3 separate regions of the Homo sapiens genome follow, and all the other regions are linked to region 1. Evidence: promoter capture Hi-C in 16 types of primary human blood cells and fetal thymus (Javierre and others, 2016). All regions are on one chromosome and are shown on one strand. Each heading gives the region's core, a stretch centred on a gene start or on the middle of the fragment in contact. The rest is flanking DNA. Distances are from core to core; before and after follow the strand shown. Region 1 holds the start of MRPL39 (mitochondrial ribosomal protein L39). Region 2 overlaps GABPA (GA binding protein transcription factor subunit alpha). Region 3 overlaps LINC00158 (long intergenic non-protein coding RNA 158).

Evidence for each region. Contacts are between HindIII fragments. The CHiCAGO score rates a contact against its expected background, and 5 or more counts as called.
Region 2: a contact is called between a fragment that was not itself captured here and the fragment with the promoter of MRPL39 in region 1, in 8 of 17 cell types (naive CD8 T cells, non-activated CD4 T cells, naive CD4 T cells and 5 more). The highest score is 11.4, in naive CD8 T cells.
Region 3: a fragment that was not itself captured here is called in contact with the fragment with the promoter of MRPL39 in region 1 in 1 of 17 cell types (activated CD4 T cells); the score reaches 5.2 in activated CD4 T cells.

The regions. Positions count from the first base shown.
Region 1 is chr21:25,605,821-25,608,745 of GRCh38, reverse strand. It overlaps MRPL39 (mitochondrial ribosomal protein L39), which reads left to right and starts at 1,265. Exons shown (of 10, transcript NM_017446.4): 1 at 1,265-1,343; 2 at 2,091-2,297. The coding sequence starts at 1,271. RefSeq lists a silencer at 161-220 and an enhancer at 1,201-1,320. The HindIII fragment of the contact is 17,691 bases long and covers 1-2,925 here.
Region 2 is chr21:25,738,456-25,741,434 of GRCh38, reverse strand. All of the region lies in intron 1 of GABPA (GA binding protein transcription factor subunit alpha), which reads right to left. Among named protein-coding and RNA genes, the nearest start is that of GABPA, 5.0 kb to the right of the region's middle. The HindIII fragment of the contact is 2,157 bases long and covers 505-2,661 here.
Region 3 is chr21:25,393,933-25,396,743 of GRCh38, reverse strand. The region is part of intron 4 of LINC00158 (long intergenic non-protein coding RNA 158); the gene reads left to right. Among named protein-coding and RNA genes, the nearest start is that of LINC00158, 36 kb to the left of the region's middle. The HindIII fragment of the contact is 3,774 bases long and covers 1-2,811 here.

The DNA of each region.
Region 1 (2,925 bases), core at 16-2,515:
TTTCATGGGAACTGTATGCAAATTTGAGGAAGCAAAAGATACACCCGCCCTCCAACACTATATGTATATATGTACATTTCGTGGTTTGAATTAGGATCTTAAATGAAATGTAGCCTGGTAAAATGTAGACTGGATGTAAATCCAAGCTCCGTCACTTACATTTCCCATTTTAAAAAGTGAAGATACTTACACTTTCCTGGCGCAGTGGTTGTGAGTGTAACATTTGGGCCAAGGAGACGGTCGATCTATCGTGGCGCAGGGTCATATTTGTACCTTAGGCGGCACTTCCACCTGGTGGCGGCGCATTCCAATTGCAAGGCAAAGGACAGAGTGGGGGAAAGGCTGAATTCGACACCCTTAAGTAAAGCCACAGAATTAAACTACTGTAAATGAAAATATTTCCATCCTGTACCTACAGAGTGCTTACTTCAAATAACACTCACGTCCTGGTAGGACAGAAAAATTAGACAATGAGCTGAAGTTTGCCTGCAAGGGCATTCATTCATTCATTCATTCAAGAAACATCTGTTGAGCGCTGACTGCGCTGTGCTCTGTTCTGGGCGCTTGGGATACATCAGTGAACTAGAGACAAAAATTCTGCCCCGGGATGCCTTCTCCTATACATCCTATACTATATAAACTAAACTAGAAAATTTGTAAAGAGCTCTTAGGAATTACAACGTCCTCTCCAAAGTCAAGGGGACGTGTTCCGAGGCCTCTATTACCACAGCTAAGGGGAGAACCGGGGTGCAGACCCACTCCAGCCGAACTAAGAACCTACCCGGCACAATTGAAAGTTAAGCCACGCGCTAGAGGATGTCATCGCTGACAAAATAGAAGACGCCTTCCCCATTCCCCCCCACCCCCGCCCCCGCCAAGAAAACCATATATTCTTTTAGGGAAGCAAGCGCTTCACCTGGGTGGCCGGGATCGAACCCGCGGAGGGCTGAAGGCGGAGGGCAACGACGCCTGTGGAACTCTGTTTCCCTGCAGAGCCTACGTGGTGGGCGGCAGGCCGACCGCCCTGGGGGCCCTGCACCTCTGGGTAGGTGACCGCGCCCAGGTATCGAGCACAGGTAACGCGCCCCGGCTCCGAGTCTCGGGGTCTCAGCCACTGAATCCCCAGCGAGGCCTGACGCCCCCCGGTGGAGGCGAGCAGTCTGAGTGCTGGGTCCGGAACAGACCTGTCCTGCGGAACTCCGAGTGCGCGTTCGGTTTCCGGGGGAGGAGGGCGGAGAAGGACTTGCGCGCGACGGTTCTCACCGCTGCTATGGAGGCGCTGGCCATGGGTTCCCGGGCGCTGCGGCTCTGGCTGGTCGCACCCGGTGGCGGGATCAAATGGAGTGAGTTTCAGAGGCCGTAGGGACAGGGAGCGAGGCCTAGATAGTGGTGTCTGTCTAGATTGGGTCTGAGGCGGGGCCGGGGAGGTCCCGCGGGGCAGAGGAAGGAGGAGGGTTTCTTAGTCCCTCCGCGGCGGTCGCTCTTGCACAGCTTGGGAGGACTAATTTATGGGAACGAGGGTCTGGCGGAGGGCAGGGGCAAGGGCAGGGGTCGGGGCCAGGGGTCGGAGCCAGGCCGCGGGAGGAGCTTGGGCCCGCCTCTGGGAAGCAGCGCACGTTCCGTGCACATCTGTCCATGTCTTCCCAAGGAATACTCGTACTTGCCTTGGCAGGTTCCCTGATTTGGCCTTTGGGATATAAACTCAGCATTTCTCATTCTGGATATTGATAGTTTCGGTGTGGGACCTTTGGTTTCCTGAAATTTTCTTGTTTTTCTTCAGACCCTGTCAAACCGACCACTTTGTTCACCTTCCCAATGACTCTAGTCCAGTTTTGACTCCGTTTCCTGGTTACTTTTTGCCCCTTATTGTAAAGCACTGATTGGAAACACGACACAGGAAATTGGTGGGAAATAGCGATCTGATGTGAAAGAGCCAAATTTAAAAGTAGAGGCACGTATCTGGGCCAGCTCTGTTTCTTCCGCTGGTGTTTGTTAATATTACAAATTGGTTTAATTTTACCTCTGAGCGCACTTTTGGCAGTACGTTAATCATTTTTTCAGTCTTCATATTTATTGTAACTTCTCCACAGGATTTATAGCAACATCGTCAGCTTCTCAGCTGTCACCGACAGAATTGACAGAAATGCGGAATGATCTCTTTAATAAAGAGAAAGCCAGGCAGTTATCATTAACTCCCCGAACTGAGAAGATAGAAGTTAAGCATGTTGGGAAAACTGACCCCGGTACTGTCTTCGTGATGAATAAAAACATTTCAACTCCCTACAGTTGTGCCATGCGTAAGTAGCAGAATCAGGTTACAGTTTTGACCCTTTTACTTAAGCTGTGTGGAAGCACTGGTGCAGGAGACAGGATGCTGTAATTACTTCTGGTCATCTGTGGCCATGGCAATCCCTTTATACCAAAATCCTTTCTTGAGACCTGCATGGTGACTGCTCCCACCACATCACAGACCTAGCTAAAAAGAGCAAGCAAATCCCAGCTACTTGGGAGGCTGAAGCAGGAGGATAGCTTGAGGCCAGAAGTTCAAGACCAGCCTGGGCACCATAGCCACCCTGTCTCTCAAAAAATAAAAATAGAAATAAATTAGCCAGATGTGGTGGGCGCAGAAGTCCCTGGACTTCCCAGAGGTTCTTTATCTGGCACCTTATTGTCTATTCACTGTCCCTGTAGTTCTGGAGGGTACTCTGAGTATTGCAAGGTTGGCACTGTAGTGCACAGATTGTCCTGCCTGGCGCTTGTTTGAATCTGGCTTTGTTTATGGTACTAGATAATTTTCTGGCAGAAGGTGACCAGACCTGAGTGCATTGTTACTAGTGTGCTTTCTCCTTTAATTTAATTTAATTTTAGAGATGAGGGTCTGGCCCTGCTCCCAGGCTGGAGTGTAGTGGTACTATCATAGCTCAC
Region 2 (2,979 bases), core at 334-2,833, 130 kb before region 1:
CAGCTGGGTGTGGTGGCTCATGTCTCTAATCCCAGGACTTTGGGAGGCCAAGGCAGGCAGATTGCTTGAGCCCAGGAGTTTGAAATCAGCCTGGGTAACTTGGCGAAATCCTGTCTCTACTAAAAATACAAAAATGAGCAGGGCGTGGTGGCACGCGCCTGTAGTCCCAGCTATTAATACTTCGGAGGCTGAGGTGGGAGGATCACCTGAGCCCAGGAGGCTGAGGCTGCAGTGAGCCATGATCGCACCACTGCACTCCAGTATGGGCGACAAGAGACCCTGTTTGAAAAATAAAATAAAGAAAATCCACAAATGACATTTATAAACTAATTTTTTAAAAAACTGGTGTTTATTAACCTGACATGACAACTTCATTAATCTACTGGATTTACTGAGATGTTTTCGGGACCAATTGCAATCAACAAGTTACCTCAAAATTAAGTTAAGGGTCTGTTAACTATATTAAAGCAACTCAGTCTCAATAACAGATTCAAACCTGAAGCTTAACATGGAGATGAACTATGTTTATTCAGCTGAAAGTTGTACCTTAGTAGCAGAATTTACTGCAAAGTATCACACTGATACAATGATATGCAAATTAATCAGCTAGGATTTGGTACAAATGATGTCTCTTATAAATGCAAGAATATTATAAAACAGCAAAACAAAGTAACAAATTACAGATATGCACATTATTTCCCTGATTACACACAGTAGAAAATTTTTAATGATTTTTTCAGAGGTGGTTTTATTTTAAACAGACCACTACTTCAGTTTTTAATTATCCCATGTAAAATTTTTATCTATTGCTTAAAACCACTGATACAAAAACATTAGAATTTTAAAAATGCTAAAGAATACACAAATAGCTAATATACATAGATATTTCTTTGTGGACATGTCTGAGGTGTTAATACTGTTAAGTACCAGGTTCTGTTATTAACTACCTCGCAGTAGGTCAATGAATGTCTTTGAATTCCATACGCACTTTCAGTCCACAGCACCTTCTGAGTAGTTATTCTAAGCGTACTACCACATCTAAAAAGAGGCGTACCTTTAAAAGGAACGCTCCACTAAATTTGGTATTTCGACATTTACAAAAGAGTTGTGCTCCCACTTACAAGATTTCACTAAATGAAGAATTTAAATGTTCATTTGTATTAACCATTACTCGCCGAGCATCAGGCACTGCATTCAAATGCTTTGCATAGAGCAATCTTATTTTGAGCTCCATCTCATACGAACGCTATTCAGAGGTGAGGCTAAACCACTTGTGGCTCCATGTCACAGTTTTGGTGTATCAACCTAAGTAGGTATCATTCCAGATGGGGATGAACCATGGTTGTCCAAATATAGGCTCTGTATTGCGTATATCAGTACAACAGCCACCACCACCCCTTACCTGGAGTACTGCAACAATCTCCTAAAGGGGGTCCCTGTGTCCACTCTTGTCCCCTCACAGTCTATTCTCAGTCAATACAACGGCCAGAGTGTGATCGTTTTTAAAACGCAGCTAGGGCCAGATACGGTGCCTCATGCCTGTAATCCTAATACTCTGGGAGATCGAGGAGAGAGGACTGTTTGAACCCATGAGTTCAAGACCAGCCTGGGCAACATAAAAAGAACCTGTCTCCTATAAAAACATTTTTAAAATTAGCCAGGCATGGTGGTGTGCAACTGTTGTCCTAGCTACTTGGGAGGCTGAAGTGAGAAGATCGCTTGAGACCAGGAGTCGAGGCTGCAGTCAATGATGATCGTGCCACTGCACTCCCTCCTGGGCAACAGCGAGACCCTATCTCTTGAAACAAATAAATAAAAGTAGAAGGTCCTTAAAAGTAGAAGAGGAAATTGGAAGAGAGAGCCAGAGTGATTCAATGTGAAGATCTGCCGGTTAGCTGTGACTGGCTTTGAAGATGGAGGAAAGGAGCTTTGAGCCAAGGAATGCAGGTAGCTTCTGAAAGCTAGACAAGGAACGGATTCTCCCTCGAAGGCTCTAGAAAAACAGCACTGGCAACACCTCATTTTAGCCCAGAGACCTACTTCATATTTCTGACTCCAAAACTGTAAGATAATAAACAGGTGGTGTTTTTAAGCCACTAAATTTGCATAATTTGTTACACTAGCATTAAGAAACTGAGTCTCCCTTCCCACTTTAGAAAGGGCTATAACTCTCCTAAGTTCTCAATATCTCCAACTATGGGGTAGCTGGTTTTCTGACAAATAGCTGGCACCCAAATCTAGACTGCCTGATACAAAATGATCTAATTTTTCCCACGTAATTAAGGTTGCTCTCAGGCTTGCCCTTTAAGGACGAACAATAAAAGGGTAAGGTTCTCCACTGGGATGGACGCATGCATATGGAGCAGACTGCGCAGGCTCCGTTCACAAGCACATCTAGCCGACTGCGCAGATTCTGTTCACGTGCATATCTAGCAGAATGCGCAGGCTCCAGCAGGCTTTTTTGGGGATGATGAAGAAATGAAGACCCTCTGTTTTTGGTTTTTTTTTTTCTTGCTGATGCTGGTCTAATAAGCCTTCCTTTTCTCCAATAAAGCCTATTCCTTAACTGGTGCTATGTGTAAAATTGTGGAATTCATCCTGAGGGCTGAAGAAAACAGGTGGAAACCGAGTAGGGATCTACCTTGAAGGACAACATAAGCTTCCAGGGCAAGAATATGTGTTCACAAATATATACAAAGTACTCTGAAGAGTACTACCTTCAGCAGGCACTCCACCAATATGTGTTGAATAAATGAATAAGAACTATTTCACACCATATAAAATGAACTACACATGCCTTAAAGGATTAAACATACAAGGCAAAACTATGAAACAGAAGAAAATGGTGGGGACATTTTTGTGGTCTCAGGATAGAAAAAGATTTCTTAAATAAAATTCCAAGAACATAACCGTAAGGAGAAAAATCTGATTACATAAAAATCAAGATTTATGTTCAACAGACAGGCTACAGAATGGAAA
Region 3 (2,811 bases), core at 78-2,577, 210 kb after region 1:
ATGATTTTCCTTTTGATTTTACAGCAGCAATACTGTAAAAGGTTTAATTTATTTCTCAGATTAGCTCTTTGGAACTGAGAGATGAGATGAGGCCTGGAAAACTTCCCCCAGTACAGTCAAGTTCCTGTTGACTAATTCTGTGACCACCAGTGACAGTCTTTGAGTCCGTGAGGCAGAGTTGCGGCAGCACAGGCTTTGCTTGGAGTTGGATGGTTCGCACCCTGCTTGGCATGGTTTCTAAGAGACATCCTCTGAGTGGATGAGGGGAGAATCCAGCAGGCCTCTAGTCACACTGGTACGAATAATTTTGATGGTGGGAGATGGTGGTGTGAGTGGAGGGTCTGTGGGTGTGATGAACACCTGAATGACTCATGGGGAGAGGGATGTTAACAGGACAGATGCCACTTGCTGTAATTTTCATATGATGTGTTTGGAAAGCCCCCTGCATGGAGGAAAGATAGATCGAGGTCCCTTTCAAAAGTGCTCCAGATGAAGAGGCATTTCCACTTTCAGAAACCCTGAGAATCCCCGAAAGAACCTCTAACTAGTCATTGTACTGGAGGCCGCTCCTCTATTCCGAATACTGCTGTTCACTGTCCCTCTCAGCAAACTGTACTGCTCCTATTGCAACCTGAGTTTAGGAAGACTTAAAGCTATGTCAACTGTTTATTTCTCTCCTTGGAGAAGTACCTGTGTCAGCTACCCAAGGTTAACGTCTCCACCAGGTTCATTATTTTATATTTTAAATATATTTTAAGATCAAAAGTGTTTGAAGGACTTGCTTTTTTCCCCATGATAAAGGTAATAACTCCTCTCTATAAGAAATTTGGAAAAGTAGGCTGGGCGCGGTGGCTTATGCCTGTAACCCCAGCACTTTGGGAGGCTGAGGAGGGCGGTTCACTTGAGGTGAGGAGTTTGAGACCAGCCTGGCCAACATGGTGAAACTCTGTCTCTACTAAAAATACAAAAATTAGCTGGGCGTGGTGGCAGTTGCCTGTAATCCCAGCTACTCTGGAGACTGAGGCAGGAGAATCGCTTGAATCCGGGAGGTGGAGGCTGCAGTGAGCCAAAATTGCACCACTGCACTCCAGCCTGGGAGACAGAGTAAGACTCCATTAAAAAAAAAAGAAAGAAAGAAATTTGGAAATAAAATTATTTATAATTCCAGTCAATCAAAATAAACCATTGTTAATTTTTAATTTTTTAGATCCAAACTTTCTCATTTCACACTCTTTGCCCCATAAACACTTGTCTCACCCCTTTTGGTGTTGGGTTTTTATTGTATAATTATAACTTCCTTAAGAGTTATACATGCTTACTCTTGATAACAGGTAAATGAAGACAAGTACATAGAAGCAGAAAAAATACAACCAATGTTAACATTTTGGTGTATTTCCCTAATAATGGTTAAAGAAAAAAAACTCAATGACACTTTAAAGTACTACCATACTTCAAATAAACAGGCAGTTTATCCAGGACCATTATAATATGGGGACCATTGCAGCGGGATTTTTCCGTGGGGAGAAAGATTGGGCTTAATTCCAAATACAGTATTGGCAAGAGGGAATTTATAGCCAAGGTGCAAGGCGGGAGTCATGCATGAAAAATTGCTAAGAAATAACACCAGGAGTAAGCAGGATTCTGGCCAAACTGAACTAATTAGATTCTTGCTGAGGATAGACCAGGATGATCAGATATCATCTGGGGGATGGTGGAGGGTTAGGAACCTGATCAGATATCAAGGATGGAGGGTTCTTGCTAAAGTTAGCAGGGTTCTTCTAAAACCGTGTTTTATAAGAAAGTGCACAGATAGGCCTCGGAGAACATTCACAAGCTGGACCAAAGTTTGGTCAAGCACAGAATCTTTGTCACAATCATAATTCATAAAAAGTTTCCTTTTTAATCAAAAACTTTTAATAAATGTCACTTATGGAAGCTGAATGAGATAGAACATTTTGAGGATCCATCCAAACTATTTTTCTTTTTTCTTTTTAACATCGACACACAATAACTGTACATGTTTGTGGGGTACATATTGATATTTTGATACATATAATATATGGTGCTTAGATCAGGGTAATTAGCATATCTGTCATCAAGCATTTATCATTGCTTCATATTGGGAACATTCAATATCCTTCTTTTAGTTATTTGAAACTCTACTGTTAATTATTATTCAATATAATCATCCTACAGTAGTGTAGAGCACTAGAACCTATTCCTCCTATCTAGCTTTTTAATTTTGTATCCTTTAACTTTTTAAAAACAATGTCCCCTACTTTGGGAGGCCGAGGCAGGTGGATCACCTGAGATCAGGAGTTCGAGACCAGCCTAGCCAACAAATAATAATAAAAAAAAAATTAGCCAGGCATGGTGGCGTGAGCTGTAATCACTGCTACTTGGGAGGCTGAGGCAGGAGAACTGCTTGAACCCAGGAGGTGGAGGTTGCAGTGAGCCAAGATTGCGCCATTGCACTCTAGCCTGGGTAACAGAGCAAGACTCGGTCTCAAAAAAAAAAACAAAAGGCCCCAAAGTGTTTCCAGTGTATTATTTTCTGAGGAAACAAAGCACATGGATCATCTTGGAGGAACCTGCATCCCAGAGTGGCTTCTGCATAATCCTGCTTCCCCTCCCTTCCCTTCATAGGCTGTGACCTCAAACCCCACCTCCCTGTTTCTTCCAGAGAGCCCTACCTGTCACACTCTAATGAACACCTGAAAAACCTTTGTTTCATGTTGATTTTTCCTCCAAATTCCTGCAAATATAGATTTCCCCCAAATGTACAAAGATTTACAGAAAGAAATGGTAATT